Regions from separate parts of the Homo sapiens genome. Here regions 1, 2 and 3 are each linked to region 4. Evidence: promoter capture Hi-C in 16 types of primary human blood cells and fetal thymus (Javierre and others, 2016). All regions are on one chromosome and are shown on one strand. Each heading gives the region's core, a stretch centred on a gene start or on the middle of the fragment in contact. The rest is flanking DNA. Distances are from core to core; before and after follow the strand shown. Region 1 holds the start of FOCAD (focadhesin). Region 2 overlaps FOCAD (focadhesin). Region 3 has its middle 1.6 kb from the start of MLLT3. Region 4 holds the start of HAUS6 (HAUS augmin like complex subunit 6).

Region 1 (2,913 bases), core at 14-2,513, 1.6 Mb after region 4:
GGGCGGGCCCCAGCCGGAGGAGGCGGAACAGGGCCTCGCGATATGCAGCCCATTGGCTCTCTCCTGCAGTCCCCGCCCCCGGGCGTTCGAGGCGGCGGGGCGGGCCACGTCAGGCAGCCGGCGCTGGGCTGAGCTTGTGGCAGAAGGGAGGTAAGCCGTGCGGGGCGGCGGGCTGCCACCGCTGCACCCCTGCTCGGGAGCCGCCGGGTCGCGCCGCCTGCGGCCCGGTCGGCTTGCATGGAGGGCGGCTGAGGCCCTGCGGGGCTGGGGCTGAGCTGGGAGACGGGGCAGTGGAGCATGTGGCGGCAGGGCCGCGTCGCGGCGAGGGGCAGCCGGGAGGGGGCTTTTTGCCCTCGTCCGGTCCTGCTGGGGCTCTCAGCTTCTGGAGGACTAGGCCTTCTGAGGTTACGGAGCTCCGAGATACCTGGGCAGGGCTGGCTGTGGTGACTGCGGTGGGACTTAGTGGGATCTCGACTCGGAAGCCGGTCGGCGCGATCCTTGCATACTTAGCTGCAGCAGGTTGCAGTCGTCCCACTCTCCTTCGACCGGTTCCCTAGTTGGGGGCAGAGCAGGAGATTCTGGCCGCGTCCTGCCTGGCCTGGGGTGACTGTCTCCTTCTCATTCCCGGTGACTCACTCAGATCATGTCCACTTATAATGCAAAGGCTTATGGGTGAGCAGGGCCTGTTTTCAGTCTCCTAGTTCTCTGGCTCCGTCCGCACTTGCGGCAATTACTTGAAGAAAGAGTATGTTAGATGTATGTTTTGAAATTTTCGCAGCAGCTAACGCGTGGAGACGTGCAGTTATGTTGCATTTACCCTTCATGAGTTTTAGTTTCAGCTGTGGCGTCCTGATATCTCAGTGTGGTTCCTGAATTTGGAGCTTTTGAAATGAATGAAATCCTGCCAATTTCATGCAGTCATTCATTCATACATTCCAAACTTTTTTGATGGATGCCTTAATGGTCAGCCTCATACCAGGTATTAAAATCGGCATTTCCTGCGTTTTATTCCAGTTTATATGTTAGTTTTATTGTCTAGATTTGAGTTGGAAATTTTTTTTTTTTTTGTTATTTTCAGGTTCTAGTATCCCTGAAACCATCGTGGCTCTGAGGGTGTAATCCTGATAACTGTATCAGTAATGACTCCAGGTTTCAGTGGCCTATCTGTAAGAAGAGGAATGGGATTAGTATAATTTTGAGATTTTCCAGGAGAGGAGGGTAGATGGCATGTTTCCTGAACTGTGTTAACAGGAAGTAACTATTTTAAAAACACAGGATGCATTTTATGATTATGTTTTACTGTGTCAACGAACATTGTATCTGTCCACATTCACTTTTTGACTACCAAGCAAGTGCATGTTTACAATTTTGATTCACATCCAATTCCTGCGTAGAAAGCACTGTGACTCATCTGAATTTTGAAATGAAGTAATCATGAGCTTTTTAATGTTACATACAAAGGTATGATATTGAAACAATTGCATAAAAATGCAATTTTCAAAGCATTTTCACTTGCTTTTATAGATTAGTGGAAGCTAAAACCTCTGCCTTGATTATTTGCTTACTTAATCAATGTTAGGTAGTTACCATCTCTTGGCTAATGTTTATCAATATTATATCTATTTTAACATTTGTTTCATTAACCCCAAATTTACTGGATTTTAACTGATTGTTGTCTCCAGTTGACGCCTGATAACCAAAAGGTTATCAGGAGGAGCTGGAGGAGGCGGAACACAGCCTCGCGCCCTGTAATAAATAGTTTGAAATCAAAATTTTCATGGACGTATAACCAGAGTTTTTCATTTGTTGATTGATTGATGGTGCTTACCGGTAAATCGTTTGGCCTTTTTCCCCGTTTAAAATGATTTATGAAACAGTCTGAGACATAATATTCTTAGCTTCATGATACTTTTGGGATATTGTCCACAAGTGATTAGTTGAATTAAATTGTTAATATCACTATTAGGAGTTTGGAAAATTTAAGAAAATATAACTTCTTAAAATTTTGCATTTGCTATTTTTTTGTTTGTTTGGAGACAGGGTCACTCTGTCGCCCAGGCTGGAGTGCAGTGCTGCGATCTCGGCTCACTGCAACCTCCGCCTCCCAGGTTCAAGTGATTCTTCTGCCTCAGCCTCCTAAGTAGCTGGGATTACAGGCGCATGCCACCACACCCAGCTAATTTTTGTATTTTTAGTAGAGACGGAGTTTCACCATGTTGGCCAGGCTGGTCTCGAAATCCTGACCTCAAGTGATCCCTCCGCGTTGGTGTTACATCTTTCAGTTCTAGAAATGGACCTGATCAAGATTGCAAGGTTAATGGGGAAAATTCAAGAGCTGAGGACATTAACCTTCTAGCGGGAAAAAACCACAATGAGAAATAATAACTATATTTGGAGGAAGTGTAAGGAAATAATAGTTTAAGGATTATTAGTCTATAACAAATCTTGATCTTAATCAGTATTTCTTGATGTATAACAAAGAACTTGGTTTAAGCACAAAAAGAAAATTAGGGTGATAATTTAAATTTTGATCAAGTGGGTAGTAAGTATTTCTTTAGGAGATGAGAAATCTATAGATCTAGAGATGCATGGTATAATAAAGTATGGTATACTTATATGAGTATAAGTCTGTGATTCACAATTAGTAATAGATTGATGGAGGTTTTGTTACTATTTCCACATGATAAGAAACAAGATTTGCTAAGCTGATAGGACAAGGGATATTTGTGAATTTCCTCCATGTAAATGATTTGAAACAACAAAGTTTTAAGTGATGTGGAAGAGCCCATCTATTTTCAAACAATGGATTGAAATGTAGTTTTTGTAACCCTCTAAGTACTTCTGGCCTCATAGTTTTTTTTTTTTTTCCCCCTACTCAGGTCATATTGAAAGTAATAAAATTGTGTTTATGAT
Region 2 (2,956 bases), core at 112-2,611, 1.9 Mb after region 4:
TCCAACTACTCAGAGGTGGCTCCTATAATCACCATTTCTATGATTGTCTAGATTAGTCTGAAATCTAAATGGATAGATCCTGGACAGGTGTTTAAAATGCATGAAGAAGCTGGGCACAATGGCACATGTCTATAGTCCCAGCCACTTGGGAGGCTGAAGCAGGAGGATTTCTTGTGCTCAAGAGTTCAAGATCACTCTGGGCAACATAGTGAGACCCCATTTCTTAAAACATTTTTTAAAAAAAATGAAGAAAGACTTGCTCAAAAGTAGAATCAGAGTATACATATTTTTAAAAATTAGTTTTGCCCACATAACCATAAATATTTCTTCATTTTGTAAGCTCTTTGAAAACATCAAAACAGAGGAATGTTTGGATCTTGATGTGATTAGGAATTGAATAAACGATGTTTCTCCTGAAATGTTAGAGCGATAATAATGAAACTGTTGGGTCTTCTGCCTTCACATAAAGGGACTTCAAAAATCTTCTAAAGCCCCAAAATGTATCTTCATTAAACATGGAAACTGAGTTTACTGTTCAGTTCAGTTCCTCTTCTGGGTGGGGGTAGGGCAGGAGGGACTGGTTGGGTGAAGGGGAAGATGACATTGCCTCACGACAGGGGCTGTGTATGTGAACATGTGTTACTTTGAATTGTTAAAAAATATGACCTAACGTCATTTCTATTTTCATCGTAGGCTTTGGACTTCTTCTTGCTGATATTTGCAACCGCAGTGGTTGCATGGGCTGACCACACTGCCCCTCTCCTCCTCGGCCTCAGTGCCAGTTGGTTGCCATGGCATCAGGAGAATGGCCCGGCTGGGCCAGTACCAAGCTTCCTTGGCAGGAGTCCAATGCACAGGGTCACTCTGCAGGAGGTTCTCACTCTCCTTCCCAATAGCATGGCTCTGCTGCTGCAGAAAGAGCCATGGAAGGAACAGACCCAGAAGGTGAGGCTGGCAGCCACCTGCTTAGCAGGGCAGGCAGCCATTGTCTCTTCAGCAGTTTCTACTGTAGAATTGAGGTGGGAGTTAAGTGCGTCTTGAATCACACCACAGACTTTCCTACCCAGCCCCATATCTCAGCCAGATGCAGAGTCTCAGAGATTGAGGCTAGCCCAGGCTCGGGGCAACTGCTGATTAAACAACAAGGTGGCAGCTTGCTTACAGCTGGGAGTGAGGTGGAGGAAAAGTCCATACTTCATTTATTGAAGGCACTTGTTTTCTTGATCCTGGGGAGGAAAGGGTGAGTATGTCTCAGAGCTCAGAATCTCAAGGTGAGGGTCGACGGGAAGGCAAATTCAGGATTGCAAATCGTGTGATAAGTAAGATACAGTGGTGATGAGCAAGGGAAGGAGTTGATCAACAATGCCTGGGTGGGTCAGGAAGTTTTCTGCCAGGAAATGTGGGTCGGGAGCATCCATCTTCTTGTAGCATCTTTAAGGTTCCCCATAGCTTATTCCATTGCACAGATATGCTCCAGGCACCCAGTGTGCCCTGGTCTGTGCTAGATGCCAAACAGAGCTTTGTAAAGGTCTGATAGTATCACCCTTGCCCTCAGGAAAACCTAAATTGTTTAGTTTGCTGTTCAGTCTAGTTCCTCTTCTGGAGTAGGGGTGGGGCGGGAGAAGGAGTTGGGTGAAGGGGAAGATGACATTGCGTCATGTTGAGGGCTTTGTATGTGAACATGTGTTACTTTGAATTGTTAAAACATATGACCCAAAAGGAAACATTTTTTGGTTTTTAATGTTGAGGTTCCCCAGGCTACTAGCTGTTCTGCAAAGCATAACTGTGCTTACTGTACTTCTCATTATATGTTTCTGACCTGTCCTTAATACAGTTGGTTGAAAGATTCTTTTTTGAATCTCATTTAATCAAAACTGGATTTTTATGAAGTTGAAAGCTTCAAACTAACTTTTTTTTGCTTATTCTTGAAATCTGAACATTAATCTTTAAAAACATTTCTGAACTGTAGACCCATAGTTTAGCTATGCACAACTCCACCAAGTATCTCAACTAAAATGCCTTTTATTTTTCTTAAACCTGATAAGCATTAGTATTGCTGCCCCAAATTTTGTGCTTTGTGTCCCATTTAAAATCAAATTTTGGCTGGGCACAGTGGCTCACACCTAGAATCCCAGCACTTTGGGAGGCCAAGGCAGGCAGATCACGTGAGGTCAGGAGTTCGAGTCCAACCTGGCCAACATGATGAAACCCTGTCTCTACTAAAAATGCAAGAATTAGACGAGTGTGGTGGTGTGTGCCTATAATCCCAGCTACTCAGGAGACTGAGGCAGGAGAATCGCTTGAACGCAGGAGGCGGAGGTTGCAGTGAGTCGCAATCCCTCCGCTGCTCTGCAGCCTGGCTGACAGATTGAGACTCTGTCTCAAAAAAAAAAAAAAAAAAAAAAATTTAAATGTGGTCTTCCCATATATTATTTCTGGACTGGGATACCACGTTCCCTTTGGACTACAATGTAGACCTCTTGCATTGATTATATATTTGTAGTGCTTGACTTTTTTGCTTATCGGTTGGATATTATAGCACAAAACTGAGAAAAGGAAAATCAACAAAGAAAAAAATTTTTGATTAAAGCAGGGAATTAGGAATATTTTCTTTTTCTCCCTATTTTACTCTTTCTTCAATCTAGCTTCTATATGTGAAACTAAAATGCCTATTACCTATCACCAATGTATGTGTTTTTAGTGAACCAAGATTGGCAGCATTCAGTCATTGATTAAATTACCCTGTATCTAATTCAAAAACAATTCAGGCTGCATCCTGAGAGATCAGCCAAACTCATAAATACTATGAGTTTCCACCTCATTTGCAGGATTTATTCATGGTTAACATGCTTGGCTCTACCTAGTGAATTATTTTATGCCATTTCTCTTGCATTTCAATTTTCTGTTTCATATCCATTTGGGCACAACTGTTCTCATCTACAGAAACATATTTTAT
Region 3 (3,093 bases), core at 407-2,906, 1.5 Mb after region 4:
GGCTCCGAGCCTCACAGGGCGGAGGGAGGGCTTGCGGGCGGGGCGGAGCGCGCGGGGAGGCAGAGCGAGCGAGCCAGGGGGAGCTCGAAAGAGCCAATCACCTGCCACCTCCCGAAACCCCGGCGGCCCGCAGCGCCACACTGGAAAGCCTCGCTTAAAGTAACAGGTTCCTGCTGGGGGGGTGGCAGGGAGGGGACGCAGGAGTGGGGAGAGCGGCCAGCTGGGGAGCCATCCCAGCCCCTGTGTAAACTCTGCTCGCCCTACAATAAAAAACGGATTAAAACTGCTGGAATGTAGCCACTGCTTAGAGCCCTCAGCAGCCGGAGAGGGGGTGTTAAATCAAGTCCTTAGCTAGTACGCACGGGGAGGAGGGAGTGGGCTTTCTTTTACTTTCCACCACGTATTTCTGTGGTTTTGTGCTGAAAAGACAAGAACTCACACCCAAACAAACTTACTTAAAGAGAGCGAGAGAAATGCCATCCTGCAAAAAACGAGCATGAAAATAGCAATGACTGAGGCTGTTCTAACCCGCAACGATCCCCTGGCCCCCTGCCCCATCCACTCACAGGCACCCGCCCGCCACCCTCACTCCCCGCCCTTCTGCCACCGCCACCGAAAATTTGAAAATGAAATGAACAAGGGAGAAACAAGGATGCTATTTCCTTGCAAGGGAACGCCTTCCGCTTTGGTAATCCCCGGCTGGGAAGCTTCATAAAGCGGTGCCCAGGTGAAAGCAAGACACCTGGGAGTGCCGGGTACAGACCCTCGGGGACCAGGCTTGGAGTTGTTTTCTTCGGGGGGCTTCCCCTCCTGACAGCCTACTGAGTTGCATCAGAACGTGGAGGATTGTCCTCTGAGGACGCGCGGGGCAACCGGGAGTCTTAAAATAGCAGATAAAGTTAATACTGACTGTAATGTGCGTAAATTGGATTATAATCTTTAGGCGTATTGGTGACAACCAGCGTAATCCATCTCTGAGTATTAATCCGGTTAGACTCCCGGGTGACAGCCAGTCGCAGGAGTGTTCCCAGAGTCGCGCCTCTGCAAATGTTCTCACTCGCGTTGTATTTGATCTCAGTGGCCGGAGATAGAACAGCGCGGCCACGCGTGGGGCGCGGAGAGGAGTATCAACTACTGGCTTCCTTTACAGACGCAGATAACCTTTAAAAAGGAAACGGATAAGATCTAGACGATTGATTTGAAAGTGAAAGATGGATGTGACTTTGGTTCGTTAAAAAAAGATCCTTGCATCTTCCTAGCCCTTAGACCTCTTTTGCCTTCTCTTTACTCCCCTTTTTCCCTCGCCTTCCAACTTCTTGCTGAACCTTGATTTTTCCTTCTCTTCTCCTTGCCTTTCCTCTTTGTCCCTCTTTCTTTCCTCTTTGTCCCTTTCTTTCCTCTTTGTCCCTTTCTTTCCTCTTTGTCCCTCTTCCTCTTTCTGACTGAACTTCCTTGCTTTCCTCTTTTCCCTTTACTTCCCTTTTCCACAAAAGCAAGTTGTCTCGGCCCTTGAATTGAGAAGAGCAGAATAGCGGGGAGGACGTTACCTAGGGCGTCCTGTGTCCTCGCTGTTAATTTTCAGTTCTCCCAGCAGCTCTCACAAAGATCCTGGGAATCAGGTCGGACCACTTGGAACCAACCTTAGTTTCCAAACCAGCAGCCTTCCAACTCAACTTTTGATTCCCTAAAACTGATATTCCGCTGCCTGTCAGTTATAATCAAGAAACTTCTTTGGCTTGAGGTCCCCAGTTCTTCCCAGCCTTCTACAGGATTTAGCATAGAATGGAGCAAACGACTGAAGGTAGAAACATTTTAATCTAAATCCAAGGGCTTAGATTTGTCAACTGACACACATATACATAACTGCATATCATCCTGTAGGTATATGCGTCGCTGTGTCTGTATGTATGTACAAGGACTACGTTTATATTCGCAGAGACAAGCTGTGTGGGTAGTATCTACGTGAAGGGGGGACCTATTTATTGTGCATTATTAAACTTTTCATAAAATAATCAAATTTGAGAGCAGTCCTTTGTAATAATAGTATTGGAAACTAAAGGTTATCTGGACGTGCCATTAGTAAAGCCATTTCTTATTAAGAAGTAACCATTAACAGCGAGTGTAGCTCAGGACACAGGCAAAAAACAACAATCCCATTCCCCGTTTGAGTTCATTTCAGGGTTTAACTTCTTCCGGCGCCAGCCACCGGACTCTCTTGAGATTGTCTCCAAAACTTGTACCCGCACAACAGATAGAGGTCTCTTTTTTGAATTATGTGTTTGCTGAATTCAGATTTATTCCAGCAATCACTAATAAGCCATAGAGTCTGAAAGGGTATTTTCCCAGTACCCCTCCTTCCTCAAAGAATGCTCTAACAACCCAACGTAGTTACTCCCAATCTCCAAATACTGGACATTTAGATTCCGTCAGTAGATGGCGCACGGAGCTCTTCCACGGACGTCCTTACGTGACCCCTTCACAACAAAAAGATCAGGAAGGGGGAGAAAAGAAAGAAAAGAAAACACAAGACTGAATACTCTCCCTTCAACTTTGGACAAAGAAATTTATGCAAGTCTGTCAATTTATTAATTACAACCTATTTTAATAAGCTTGCCATTAAAAACAATTAAAATCGATTAATTTCCTGTGCAGATCTTCACACTTTAACGTGAGGTAAAAATGTGGAAAATAACCTTTTGTGTACTTGACAATGTGGTTATAGAAAATGTACTGTAAAGAAATTTTAAGACAAACTTCAGTGCTAAATACAGAAATAGTAATATAATAACTAAAATGGAAGTGGTGAGGGATAAAATCATCTACTTATCCAAAGAATAATTATCTTACCAAAATTCATACTGTTGTATATAGCACAGTATGAAGCACCATGGGGTTAGTTTGAAGATCAGAAAAGTAATTAACATATCAAATAAAAATCGTGATGAAGAATAAAAGAGAACAGTGTCTGTGACAGATCACTACCACCACTACCATCACCATTGCCCTACCACCATCATTTTGGCTCCAGCCTTTTTATTTGCAATTGTTTTCTTTAGTCTGGAAGCTAAAGCCAGTTTCCATGTTTCTGGCAGA
Region 4 (2,881 bases), core at 228-2,727:
GCTGCAGTGAGCTGTGATCGCACAACTGCACTCCAGACTGGGCGACAGAGTGGGAGACCCTGTCTCAAAACAAAAAACAATGGCTCATATCTATAATCCCAGCACTTTGGAAGACCGAAGCAGGAGGATTGCTTGAGCCCAGGAATTTTGAGACCAGCCTGGGCAACATGGTTAGCTACTGTCTCTAAAATAATAATACTTTAAAAAAATAGAGGCCGGGCACGGTGGCTCACGCCTGTAATCCCAGCACTTTGGGAGGCCGAGGCAGGTGGATCATGAGCTCAGGAGATCGAGACCATCCTGGCCAACATGGTGAAACCCCGTCTCTACTAAAGATACAAAAATTGGTTGGGCGTGGTGGCAAGTGCCTGTAATCCCAGCTACTCGGGAGGCTGAGGCAGGAGAATCGCTTGAACCAGGGAGTTGGAGGGTGCAGTGAGCCGAGATCGTGCCACTGCACTCCAGCCTGGCAACAGAGGGAGACTCCATATGAAAGAAAAGAATTCCTCTTGGCCTACAGTGGGAATGATTAAATAGAGATACTGGCTAAAGTTGATAAAACAGAAGTGGAAAAAGTAGGGAAGGGGCTTTTACTTTCCATACTTTTCTTAAAAGGGTATTTGTTTTTAATACCCTTCTCCGTTGTTTTATGCTAACTCCAACATGCCTTACTAATTAAAAAATTAAAAATTATAAAATTAAACAACCACCTTCAAAGGCTCCCTTGAGTCCAAAAGGTGTTTTGTACATATGGTTCCCATGCTCTTCCACTACCACCCGCCATCCCTCCCACTACTTCACAGACCACCCCTCCACCACATAGGCAGAGTTAAGCTGCTCCTCCAGTCTTGCACTCTCCCCATCTGCAGACTTTTGCACTCCCCTACAGAGCGCTTCCGGCACTCTTGCATTATTTACTGTCTGTCTCTGCCCCTAGGCTGGCAGCAACTGGGAGTAGGAACTTTGGAGCCAATGCCTGGCACAGAGTAACTGCTCAACCAATTCTGATTAATCAACCTCCGGGGTCTACAAAAGGGGGAGTCCCCCGGCGTCCCCCGGTTCAGGCTCCCTCGCCCCGCCGGCCCCGGCCTCCTTACACTCCGAGGTGCGTGTGCGACACGATCTTTCCGCAGGCAATGGTTGCCGGGCCTGGCTCGAAGCCGAGCGCCTGCAGATACATCCAGAGATGCTCCTTCTCGAAAGCGGTGACCGAGGCCGAGCTCATCCTCGCGGTAGGCACGGTGGCTGCAAAGAAAGAAAGCGCAAGCCCAGGGGACTCGGAGGGCCCTCAAGATCCCTCCCTACGGTCAGCCTGAGGTCGCGGTGGTCCTTCCATTGCCAACGCCTGCTCCTTTCACGCCCAGAGCGATTTCGCCTCAAAGGGCCTCACAACCTCCGGGAAATTGAGTTTCTAACGGTATAGTGCGGCCACCACTGCCTCAGCGAAGCCACCACAAACCGAGACTCCCGCCCTTAAGGAAGAGCAGTGTGCGCCGGCGCCGCCAGGCGTCCGAGGGAGGAGGGACTTCCGGCAAAGACTATATCTCCCGCCATGCAATGCGTCCTTCTCTCCTCCCTTCCGGCCATGCCCAGCCAAGAAACTGCAAGACCCACCGGGCATTGCGCGGCCAGCGACTTGCTCTGCGCTTGCTTAACCGCTGTCGTGCCCAGATCCTCGGGCCTTCGGGTTTCTGATTCTTGGTTAGTGGGGTCCATTTGCTTGTGTATCCTAGTTGTTACGTCACAAAAAAGCCATAAATGGAGCACTATGCCTCGGTGTAGAGTTAAAGCATTGGTTCCATCCTCCGCTATGCTCACTGTGACTCTAATCAAGTCACGTAATCTCTGAGCCTCATTTCTGTCGTTAGCGAAATCTATGTCCTCAAATGCCGGATGTTCCTTTTCCTGCTTTAAATGAAATCTGGCTCTATACTCCCCTGCAGTCCTGCAGTCTTTTTTTTTTTTTTTTTTTTTTTTGAGACGGGGTTTCGCTCTTGTTGCTCAAGTTGGGGTGCAGTGACGCGATTTCGGCTCACTGCAACCTCCGCCTCCCGGGTTCAAGCGATTCTCCTGCCTCAGCCTCCCGAGTAGCTGGGATTAACAGGTGTCCGCCACCACGCCCGGCTAATTTTTTTGTATTTTTAATGGAGACGGGGTTTCACCATGTTGGCTGGCTGGTCTCGAACTCCTGACCTCAGGTTATCTGCCGGTCTTGGCCTCCCAAAGTGCTGGGATTACAGGCGTGAGCCACTGCGCCTGGCCGCCTGCAGTCCTCTTAATTTTTTTTTTTTTTTTTTTTTTTTTTTTGAGACGGAGTCTAGCTCTGTCTCCCAGGCTGGAGTGCAGTGGCGCAATCTCGGCTCACTGCAAGCTCCGCCTCCCAGGTTCACGCCATTCTCCTGCCTCAGCCTCCCGAGTAGCTGGGACTACAGGCTCCCACCACCACGCCGGGCTAATTTTTTGTATTTTTAGTAGAGACGGGGTTTCACCCTGTTAGCCAGGATGGTCTCGATCTCCTGACCTCGTGATCCGCCCTCCTCGGCCTCCCGAAGTGCTGGGATTATAGGCGTGAGCCACCGCACCCGGCCCGTCGTCTTAATTGACAGCTGTTGCCTACCACAAACCCCACTGACAACAGGGCCTGGAAGTGGATTGGGTAACCTGCTTTTAAGTCTCATTGCTACCTCTGGCAATGATTGTCTCCTGCCTCACTAAAATCACCTTAATAAAAGAGAGAGAGGCGGGGCACAGTGGCTCACGCCTATAATCCCAGCACTTTGGGAGGCCAAGGTGGGCGGATCACCTGAGGTGGGGAGTTCGAGACCAGCCTGACCAACATGTAGAAACCCCGTCTCTACTAAAAATACAAAATTAGCCGGGC

What was found. The method cuts DNA at HindIII sites, captures the fragments that hold promoters and counts their contacts. A CHiCAGO score of 5 or more calls a contact.
Region 1: a fragment that was not itself captured here is called in contact with the fragment with the promoter of HAUS6 in region 4 in 1 of 17 cell types (neutrophils); the score reaches 8.4 in neutrophils.
Region 2: a contact is called between a fragment that was not itself captured here and the fragment with the promoter of HAUS6 in region 4, in 2 of 17 cell types (M0 macrophages and monocytes). The highest score is 7.8, in M0 macrophages.
Region 3: a fragment that was not itself captured here is called in contact with the fragment with the promoter of HAUS6 in region 4 in 1 of 17 cell types (total B cells); the score reaches 5.0 in total B cells.

What each region holds. Positions count from the first base shown.
Region 1 is chr9:20,684,144-20,687,056 of GRCh38, forward strand. It overlaps FOCAD (focadhesin), which reads left to right and starts at 116. Exons shown (of 44, transcript NM_001375567.1): 1 at 116-150. It overlaps FOCAD-AS1 (FOCAD antisense RNA 1), which reads right to left and starts at 607. Exons shown (of 2, transcript NR_121601.1): 1 at 425-607. RefSeq lists a silencer at 1-418 and an enhancer at 1-558. The HindIII fragment of the contact is 8,422 bases long and covers 1-2,913 here.
Region 2 is chr9:20,989,430-20,992,385 of GRCh38, forward strand. It overlaps FOCAD (focadhesin), which reads left to right. Exons shown (of 44, transcript NM_001375567.1): 42 at 694-945. Among named protein-coding and RNA genes, the nearest start is that of HACD4, 41 kb to the right of the region's middle. The HindIII fragment of the contact is 1,067 bases long and covers 829-1,895 here.
Region 3 is chr9:20,622,531-20,625,623 of GRCh38, forward strand. No RefSeq gene overlaps it. Among named protein-coding and RNA genes, the nearest start is that of MLLT3, 1.6 kb to the left of the region's middle. RefSeq lists silencers at 1-407, 428-567. The HindIII fragment of the contact is 1,902 bases long and covers 706-2,607 here.
Region 4 is chr9:19,101,427-19,104,307 of GRCh38, forward strand. HAUS6 (HAUS augmin like complex subunit 6) reads right to left here and starts at 1,478. Exons shown (of 17, transcript NM_017645.5): 1 at 1,098-1,478. The coding sequence starts at 1,225. RefSeq lists an enhancer at 1,157-1,720. The HindIII fragment of the contact is 8,228 bases long and covers 1-2,881 here.